3 separate regions of the Homo sapiens genome follow, and regions 2 and 3 are each linked to region 1. The links are contacts of gene promoters, found by promoter capture Hi-C in human tissues and cell types (Jung and others, 2019). All regions are on one chromosome and are shown on one strand. The core of a region is centred on a gene start or on the middle of the fragment in contact, and the rest is flanking DNA. Distances in the headings are between cores, read along the strand shown. Region 1 holds the start of MEI1 (meiotic double-stranded break formation protein 1). Region 2 has its middle 3.2 kb from the start of NFAM1. Region 3 overlaps POLDIP3 (DNA polymerase delta interacting protein 3).

Region 1 (3,138 bases), core at 177-2,676:
ATCAAAATATTTGAGAACGCAGCCAGGCACGGTGGCTCACAGATGCAATCCCAACACTTTGGACTTTGGGAGGTCAAGGCAGGAGAATTGCTTGAGACTAGGAGTTCAAGACCAGCCTGGGCAACACAGGGAGACCCCCGGGACCGTTTCTACAAAAAAAAAAAAAAAAAAAAAAAAAATTGAGAACTGCTGATCTAGCCAATCCACCCACTCACGAATTCCCCTCCCATGAATTGGAGAGAAACTTGACCTCCCAAAGTCTTCTTGGATGCCTCCATGGACAAGAAAACTCACTGCAGGTCGGGCACCGTGGCTCACGCCTATAATCCCAGCACTATGGGAAGCCGAGGCGGGTGGATCACCTGAGGTCAAGAGTTCGAGACCAGCCTGGCCAACATGATGAAACTCCGTCTCTACTAAAAATAGAGAAATTAGCCGAGCGTGGTGGCGGGAGCCTGTAATCCCAGCTACTGGGTAGGTTGAGGCAGGAGAATCGCTTGAACCCAGGAAACAGAGGTTGCAGTGAGCGGAGATGGCGCCATTGCACTCCGGCCTGGGTGTCAGAGCGAGACTCCGTCTCGAAACAAACAAAACCACTTCATTGCAAACGCGGTAGGCAATGAGGACCCAGGCAGCCCGCTTTGGCCAGCTCTGCCCAAGGAACAGTCTTCCCGTTCACCCCCACTTCTGCCCGGCTGTAACCTGTCACTCCTGTCCCCTCGGAGCCCAGACTGCCCCTCCTCCGATTCACACCCCGACAGCTGAAGGGAATGAGGAGCGGCCGCCGCATGCGCCCCTGGCCCGCAGGTGAGTGGAGGCTGAAATGGCGGGAGGCTGAAATGGCGGGAGCCTGAGCTAAGGCCGAATCCCCGGGAAATGGAGGCAGGGGCAGCAAAGGGAAGGAGCCAGAAGGCGGAAGGCGGGAAGGTGTGTCCCTGAGACTGGGTGAGGTCCCGGGGGATCCGGATTTCCGTCCTTTCAGGCGCAGAGCCAGTGGACCGGGCTCCACGGAGGCCCGCAGGCCGGCCTGGGGCTGAGGGGCCCGAGAGGCCGCTGCGGCCGGGTCCGGGACGGGCTGACAGGGAGGAGAGTGAACACAGCGCGGGGGCCCGGTTTCGCGTCGGGTTCACCGGAGCGGGTCTGGCAAGGGCCTGGCCGCGTTTGCTGAGGGAAATGGCCAAACCCAGGTCTTCTGAAGAAAAGGTTCCGCCCGCACCGACACGCCGGGGTCCGGCAGCAGCTCCAGCGCGCAGGCCAGGCACAGGCGGGGGGTCACGGGCAGCAGCCAGCGCGGGTCGTGCCGGTAATGGGCCCTCTCGAATAGAAGCGCCGCCTCTTCCTCTCTCCTGGGCCCGGGAGTGCCCGCCGTCGCCGCCTGCCTCACAGCCATCTCCTCGCTTGCCCTCAGCTGAGGCGGCACTCTTTCCCGCGCAGACTGCACGCATGCGCACTTGGAGGACGGACCTGCGTCGGTGTGGAATGCGCCTGCGCGGACCCAGGGCGCTGCAGTCTCAGACGAGCAGCAGCCACTGAGGGCAAGTGGTGGACGCAAGTGCTCTGGATCGTGTCTAGCTAAGCCAAAAGCGGTTTGTGCTTAGAACCCTGCAGGAATGTCTTTACCACATCCAAAGTTGAAAAGCAATTATAAAGTAGGGGGCATTTGCCTTGAAAAAGGAAGGAAAGGAAGCTATTTCTACTGTTTTTTAAAAATGAAGGCCGGGCATGGTGGCTCACGCCTGTAATCCCAGCACTTTGGGAAGCCGAGGTGGGCGGATCACGAGATCTGGAGATCAAGACCATCTTACCCAACATGGTGAAACCCCGTCTCTACTAAAATACAAAAAATTAGCTGGGTGTGGTGGCAAGTGCCTGTAATCCCAGCTACTTGGGAGGCTTGAGGCAGGGGAATCACTTGAACCTGGGAGGCGGAGGTTGCAGTGAGCTGAGATTGTGCCACTGCACTCCAGCCTGGCGACAGAGCAAGACTCTATCTCAAAAAAAAAAAAAAAAAGGAAAATAAGCGATCCCAAGGATTCGCATCTAAAAGCAATTAGAGGCTGGGTGAGTTGGCTCATGCCTGTAATCACAGCACTTTGGGAGGGAGGCTGAGGCAGGAGAATCACTTGAACCTGGGAGGTGGAGGTTGCAGTGAGCCAAGATCGCACCACTGCACTCCAGCCTGGGTGACAGAGGAAGACTCCATCTTAAAAATAAATAAATAAATCAGAAGCTTAAGACCAAAAAATAAAAGTAAAAAAACAAAACAAAACACCAAAGACAGAGAGAAAGAAGTTCAAGACCAGCCTGAGCAACAGGGCGAAACCCCTCCTCTACTAAAAATACAAAAATTAGCTGGGTGTGGTGGCTCATGACTGTAATCCCAGCTACTCGGGAGGCTGAGGCAGCAGAATCGCTTGAACCCAGGAGGCGGAGGTTACAGTGAGCGGAGATCAAGCCACTGAACTCCAGCTTGGGCCACAGACCTACACTCCATCTCAAAAAAAAAAAAAAAAGCGTCCCATGCAGAGGACCACCCCTCCCCATAAGCAGCTGAGGCTTTTGGAGTGTCCTGCCTCAATCAGGATTAGCTTGGAGACAGAGCAGGATAGAACCTCAGTGGACTCCACTGTGAGGAGCTGGGGGGCAGGTGTTTCGGAGAGGACACTGGGTTGACCCACATTCCCTAAACCACAACCACAGAGTGGAAGGGGCTTCTACCCCACCCACAAAGTATCCCAAACCCCGAAAGGGGGCACTTGGAAAATGTGCCAGAGAAATCAGAACACCACAGGGCCCAAATGACCAATTTATTAGAGGCTTTGCAGGGATCAGGACACTCTCAAAGCTTTTCTGATATGTCCTGAGGACTCTGGGCCTGAGTCTACTTTTTAAAGCCATTCTGGAAGAGAAAAAAATTCAGATGCTTCATAATACTAAACTTTTTGGAGGCTCGTGTATTCTGTGGAGCCCCATTTGGGTTCCCAGGTGCCTCCTGGCCCTGGGGACTCTCTGTCTTAGGAAGGGTGGCCCCAGTACAGCAGTGACCTTGCAGCTGAAGATCCCTCTGTGAAGCAGTGTGATCTCCGATGCTGTCCTCCCCTGCACGAGGATCACCCACTTTGGGAGGCAGAGTAGAAT
Region 2 (2,950 bases), core at 308-2,807, 740 kb before region 1:
CTTCCAGATCTTGAAGATTCCTTTTGGTGTGGCGGGGTTGGGGAGTTGGCACTAGCTCCTTGCTGCCTCCCAGAAACTGAGCATAGCAGGGGGACCATGGTATGTGTCCAGTAGAAAAGCCCGGGTCCCCTCTGTGACCTCAAGCAGGTGAGTCACTGTTTTTCTCCCTCACTAAATATGTCAGCTGAGGCGTATAATATCTGCCCTGATTAAAGGACCAGGTGAATTGCAGGAGAGCGCAGTGGTTAAAGCCAGGTCCCGGGAGCTGGAGCCCTTGTTCCACTGCGTCTTCGCTGTGTGGCCTTGGGCAAGTGGCTTGTGTTCTCTGAACTCCAGTTTCCTCATCTGCGAAGCAGGAGCAGTCATAACACCTCCCATACAAGGTTTCTATGAGGGCTGAAGTACAAGAAAAGCCTTTAGAACTGTGTCTGGCATCAAACAAATGCTTAAGAGCCAAAAATACAAGCAGCTGGAACTGAGAGGGGATTCTGGAGACAAGCCAGGCCAGGCTTCCAGCCCGGGCAGCCTGCGGGCAGATGGCCTCCAGGTGGGTCTGCCTGCCTCTGGTGGGGTCAGCACCACCCAGCTGCAGGGCCACTGCGAGGCACAAGACGGCCCCAGAGGTAAACCCGGCTGCTCCTAGGATGGAGGCTGCCCTTTTTGATAGTGAGGGTGTTTGAGAGAGAGGGTGGATCGGCCCCTGAGTACCCTGGAACCCTTTTTGCCTCAGTGAAGCCAGCTCAGAGGGTCATTCTGAGGGGTCCCTCCTGCTGGTCGGCTCAGCTCCTCTTGGTGCTGGAGTCTTTGGGGAGGAAGGAAGTGATTTTCGCAGCCGCAGCGGGGAGCAGAGGGATCTCCTTCCCACGGCACTTCTGCTTCCTGTGCAGAAAGGAACCATGAAGAGCTCAGGACCTCACTGTGTCCCGGCTGGAGGCCTCTCAGCTGCCACTTGCTGGCTGGGGCATTTGAAAATCCTGGATTGAGGCCGGGTGCGGTGGCTCACGCCTGTAGTCCCAGCACTTCGGGAGGCCAAGGCGGGCAGATCACCTGAGGTCAGGAGTTCGAGACCAGCCTGGCCAACATGGTAAAACCCTATCTCTACTAAAAATACAAAAATTAGCCAGGTGTGGTGGCAGGCGCCTGTAATCCCAACTACTCGGAAGGCTGAGGCGGGAGAATCACTTGAACCCGCAAGGCAGAGATTTCAGTGAGCTGAGATCATGCCACTGCACTCCAGCCTAGTGGAGTCTTTTTTGAGCCTGTCTCAAAAAAAAAAAAAAAAAAAAAGAAGAAGAAAAGGAAATCTTGGAGGTGGTCGTGGGTAGGGGATCTGTTTTTCTCCCTGGACAGGGAGCGCCTTGAGGGCAAAACCATGACTTATGTTTTGTCTGCCCAATGCCTGGCACGCAGTAGGCACATAATAAGTGTTTGTGGAACTAAACTGAAAACAGAGACCAGCTGGGCAAAGTGGCTCACACCTATAATCGCAGCACTTTGGGAGGCTGAGGTGGGCGGATCACCTGAGGTTGGGAGTTCGAGACCAGCCTGACCAACATGAAGAAATGCCATCTCTACTAAAAATACAAAATTAGCCGGGCGTGGTGGCACATGCCTGTAATCCCAGCTACTCGGGAGGCTGAGGCAGGAGAATCACTTGAACCCGGGAGGCAGAGTTTACGGTGAGCCGAGATCGCGCCATTGCACTCCAGCCTGGGCAACAAGAGAAAAATTCTGTCTCAAAAAAAAAAAAAAAAGAAAGAAAAGAAAAAGAAAACAGAGGCCAGTAATTGTGGTCTCATTTGGAAAGCCTTAGTCTTGGTGTCGAGGAGGCCCCTGGGGACTGCAGGGGACACCTGGGCTCCCCCATTTCCCCACCCAGCTTCCACCTCCTTCAGGGCTGCCACTCAGAAATTACTTTAACCTCCCTGTTCCTCAGTTTCCTCATCTGTACAATGGAGGTGATTAGAGTGCCTGCCCCATAGGGCTGCAGTGAGGATTAAACTGGCAAGGAGAGCAGGTCCCCTGGAGCAGTGTCAGGCGCTTGGAAGCTTCCCGGAACTGCTCTATTATTGCTTCACTCTGCTGAGGTTGCCGTGCCCCTAGGCTTCCCAGGGAGGCTAGGCTCTTTCACTTCTACAGCCTCCGTGAGGCCAGGGCCCAGGGCAGGGCAGGTGTTCAGTATACTGTGAGGCATAGATGCACGGATAAACGGGGAATGGACGGAGGTCTGGGCAAAAGCCAGTGGCTGAGACGTGTGGTCCCCAGGGACCTCACCTGCAAATTCAGCTGCCAAGGCCTAGCTCGAAGGCTGTGCCACTGAAGCTGCCCCTGGGACACCCACAGAGCCTCCTCATTCCTCTGCTCCGCCTTCAGCCTTTGGGGCCTTTACTGTTTATTCACAGCTCTGGCTGAGGGCACAGGAGAGGAAGCACATGAGAGGTGCTAGAAAGTTTTGGTAGAAATGAGGCTCCTGGATGCGCTGCGGTTTTATTTCTATCCCCCTGGCTCCCGAGGAGGATCAGGGCCAGACACGAGGCCCCGACAGCGCAGCCAGGGCTGCTGGGCTCCTTGCCAAGGTGCGTCCCTGCCTCTCCCCAGGAGGCTGCGTGGCTGCAGAGCGTCTCAGAAACTGGGCAATGAGCTGGGACCCTCAGCTGCTTCTTGTCCAGTCATGTCTGCGCTCCACAGCCCAGGGCCTGCCTGGGGAGTATGCACGCCTCCTCCCACCCTGCCTCCCAGAGGCTACCCCTTCCCTTGAGGCCTCTTGTGCACCAGCGTGGTGTTGGGCACCTGCCTTCATATCAAGCCTGGAGGAAGGCTTCTCCCTGCCTTATGCTCACCCATCCGTCCATTCCTGCACCCCCTGGGCCAGGCTCAAGAAGGAGAGGGGAGGAAGACAGGCAGCTCAGGCAGGCAAGCGTGGAAACCAGGTGTGCAGCAGGCTAGACCC
Region 3 (2,782 bases), core at 236-2,735, 910 kb before region 1:
AGGTGTGAGCCACTGTGCCCAGCAGTTTCTTCCTTTAGATATGAGGGCATCCCCAGTTAAGTCAGTTGACATGTCCGCTTTTGTTAGTTCGATGAGTTTAACCCTCAGCGGATAGCTTTCTGTCAGCTGCCTCCAAGCAGTTCAGTGTGGCAGCCTTGAATGTGCTGGAGGCTGGAGTTGAGCAGCTCTCTGGGCCAGACGCCTCATCTGGGGAGTCCTTGGAGCTGGAAGTGGGAGGTTGTTGGGGGACAGGGTGGATTGTAAACTTTGCAGTTCAGCCCAGGACTCTGGTCCTGGTACTGACTGCTTGTTTCCTTGTTGAAATAAGATAAAGGAAATAAAGACCTAAACACAAAAGGGAGGAAATGAGTTATTACATAACTCTAGGGAACGAATTATGTTTTAAAATGAAACATCTGCACAAGACTCTTGGGTAAGGGGATAGTATTTTATTTTATTTATTTATTTTTGAGACAGAGTTTTGCTCTTGCTGCCCAGGCTGGAGTGCAATGGCGCGATCTCAGCTCACCGAAACCTCCACCTCCTGGATTCAAACGATTCTCCTGCCTCAGCCTCCTGAGTAGCTGGGACTACAGGCATGGGCCACTACGCCCGGCTAATTTTTTGTATTTTTAGTAGAGACAGGGTTTCACCATGTTGGCCAGGCTGGTCTCAAACTCCTGACCTCAAGTGATCCGCCCATCTCAGCCTCCCAAAGTGCTTGGGATTACAGGCGTGAGCCACCTCGCCCAGCAGGGGATAGTATTTTAGTGTCTTGTTTTTCTTTGTGTCTCTTAAACACCTAATTCAGAGTTGACCCTCAGTCATAGTTAGAATTAAGCTGTTTTCTCTCTATAAAAATGACCTAAACACACACCTAAACGAACACCCCCTAACCCAGAAGCTTTTTTTGTTTGTTTTTATAAGACGGAATCTTGCTCTGTCACCCAGGCTGGAGTGCAGTGGTGCGATCTTGGCTCATGGCAACCTCTGCCTCCCATAACCCAGAGGATTTTAAACCCATGGGTTAAAATCTGCTTTATAATAATCCAGGGCCCCACTTCATGGGCCTGAATCTTTTGGACTGGACATCTGTCCAGAATGGGCTGTAGCCCTGCCCTCCCCAGACAGAGCCAGGAGGGTGAAATATTCCTATAGCCCAGACAGACCCTCCCTGGTCATCACACCTATGCCAGGTTCCCGTAGGGGGTATAGAGGAGAGAATTTGGGGTCCAGGGAACGTTTGCCTTCTCACCTGCCAGCAGCGCTCTTGCCAGGACCTCGCGGAATACCTGGTGAAGCCCTGGAAGCAGTTGCAGAGCTGTAGTTTCGGTGCGATGGAGGTGGGGCATTACGAGACTCAGTCAAAACCTTCCTCCTTCGCCCTCCCAAACATTTACTGAGGATAAAAGTGCAGGATGTGTTTTGGGAACGTCAGTAGTCACTGCAGTGGGGAGTAAGGCTGCAGCCATAAGCTGGAGCCAGAGCCGAGGCCCCCCCAGGGGTTGGGCTTTGTAAAGGAGCCCCCAGCAGTTCTAGAAGCGGGAGGGTAACATAATTGAGTCTGTGTTTTAGAGACCTACCCCTGGCAGGAGTGTTGATTTGAAAAATTTCCGATGACTAATGCCTGCCTGAAACCAGTACTGCTGCCTGCTGGGATGAATAGCTGTCTTTTCATGCAGGAAGAGCAGCTGTGATTATAAAAAGCCTGAACACTGAAGCCCCCTCAAGCTGTTCACGAAAGAAGTTGAAAGCACTGGTGGAACCAGGGAACTGAGTGCATCAGATTGAGGGAAATAGCTTACTCCCTCCCACCGTGAGGAGCTCCTACTACATCCTCAACTACCGTTAACTCCCACCCCTAAATGTGCCTTTTAGGCTGTTCAAATAGATAAAAATGCCAGCACAAAGCATCTTGGTGGTCCTTCCTGCCAGGCAGGCATTGTGGTATGCGAGTTCTCAGTGCGTGCACCACCCGCTCGCCTCGCTGCTTGTGCTCACCCTTTGGTCGCTAGAGAGTGCTCCGTATCCCTGGGCATGACCGGAGTCCTAAGATTTCTTCAGCCTGCGGACTGTTTATCCTTCCTTTATATATATGTATAAATTTTTAAGGGTTTAACAACATATTGAAACTGAAATACCAGACAATAATGATAAGGAAGATTGTTTCTTTTTGTTTTGGTGGTGGTGGTTTTTTTTTGTTTTGTTTTGTTTTGATTTTTGAGACAGGGTCTTGTTCTGTCTCCCAGGCTGGAGTCCAGTGGTGTGATCTTGGCTCACTGCAGCCTGGACCTCCTGGGCTTAGTTGATCCTCCTGCCTTGGCCTTCTGAGTAGCTGGGACTACAGATGTGCATCATCACTTGCAGCTAATTTTTTTTTGGGGGGGGGGGTAAGGTTATAGATTAACAGCATCCCAAGGCAGAAGAATTTTTCTTAGTACAGAACAAAATGAAGTCTCCCACGTCTACTTCTTTCTACACAGACACAGTAACAATCTGATCTCTCTTTTCCCCACATTTCCCCCTTTTCTATTCGACAAAACCGCCATCGTCTTCATGGCCCGTTCTCAATGAGCTGTTGGGTACACCTCCCAGACGGGGTGGCGGCCGGGCAGAGGGGCTCCTCACTTCCCAGACGGGGTGGTGGCTGGGTGGAGGCGCCCCCCACCTCCCGAACAGGGCGGCTGGCTGTGCGGGGGCTGCCCCCCACCTCCCTCCCAGACGGGGCGGCTGCCGGGCGGAGACGCTCCTCACTTCCCAGACGGGGCGGCTGCTGGGCGGA

The links. Contacts are between HindIII fragments. The study calls those that stand out against the background at their distance.
Region 2: a fragment that was not itself captured here is called in contact with the fragment with the promoter of MEI1 in region 1 in 1 of the 25 tissues and cell types used here (spleen).
Region 3: a fragment that was not itself captured here is called in contact with the fragment with the promoter of MEI1 in region 1 in 1 of the 25 tissues and cell types used here (dorsolateral prefrontal cortex).

What each region holds. Positions count from the first base shown.
Region 1 is chr22:41,697,791-41,700,928 of GRCh38, reverse strand. MEI1 (meiotic double-stranded break formation protein 1) reads right to left here and starts at 1,426. Exons shown (of 31, transcript NM_152513.4): 1 at 1,217-1,426. The coding sequence starts at 1,390. It also overlaps the pseudogene C22orf46P. RefSeq lists a silencer at 1,354-1,453. The HindIII fragment of the contact is 9,130 bases long and covers 1-2,538 here.
Region 2 is chr22:42,434,153-42,437,102 of GRCh38, reverse strand. It overlaps a transcript of NFAM1 not described here. Among named protein-coding and RNA genes, the nearest start is that of NFAM1, 3.2 kb to the right of the region's middle. The HindIII fragment of the contact is 3,004 bases long and covers 56-2,950 here.
Region 3 is chr22:42,607,863-42,610,644 of GRCh38, reverse strand. The region is part of intron 1 of POLDIP3 (DNA polymerase delta interacting protein 3); the gene reads left to right. It overlaps LOC124905127 (a long non-coding RNA gene), which reads left to right. Exons shown (of 2, transcript XR_007068118.1): 2 at 1,683-1,910. Among named protein-coding and RNA genes, the nearest start is that of POLDIP3, 5.6 kb to the left of the region's middle. The HindIII fragment of the contact is 5,591 bases long and covers 1-2,782 here.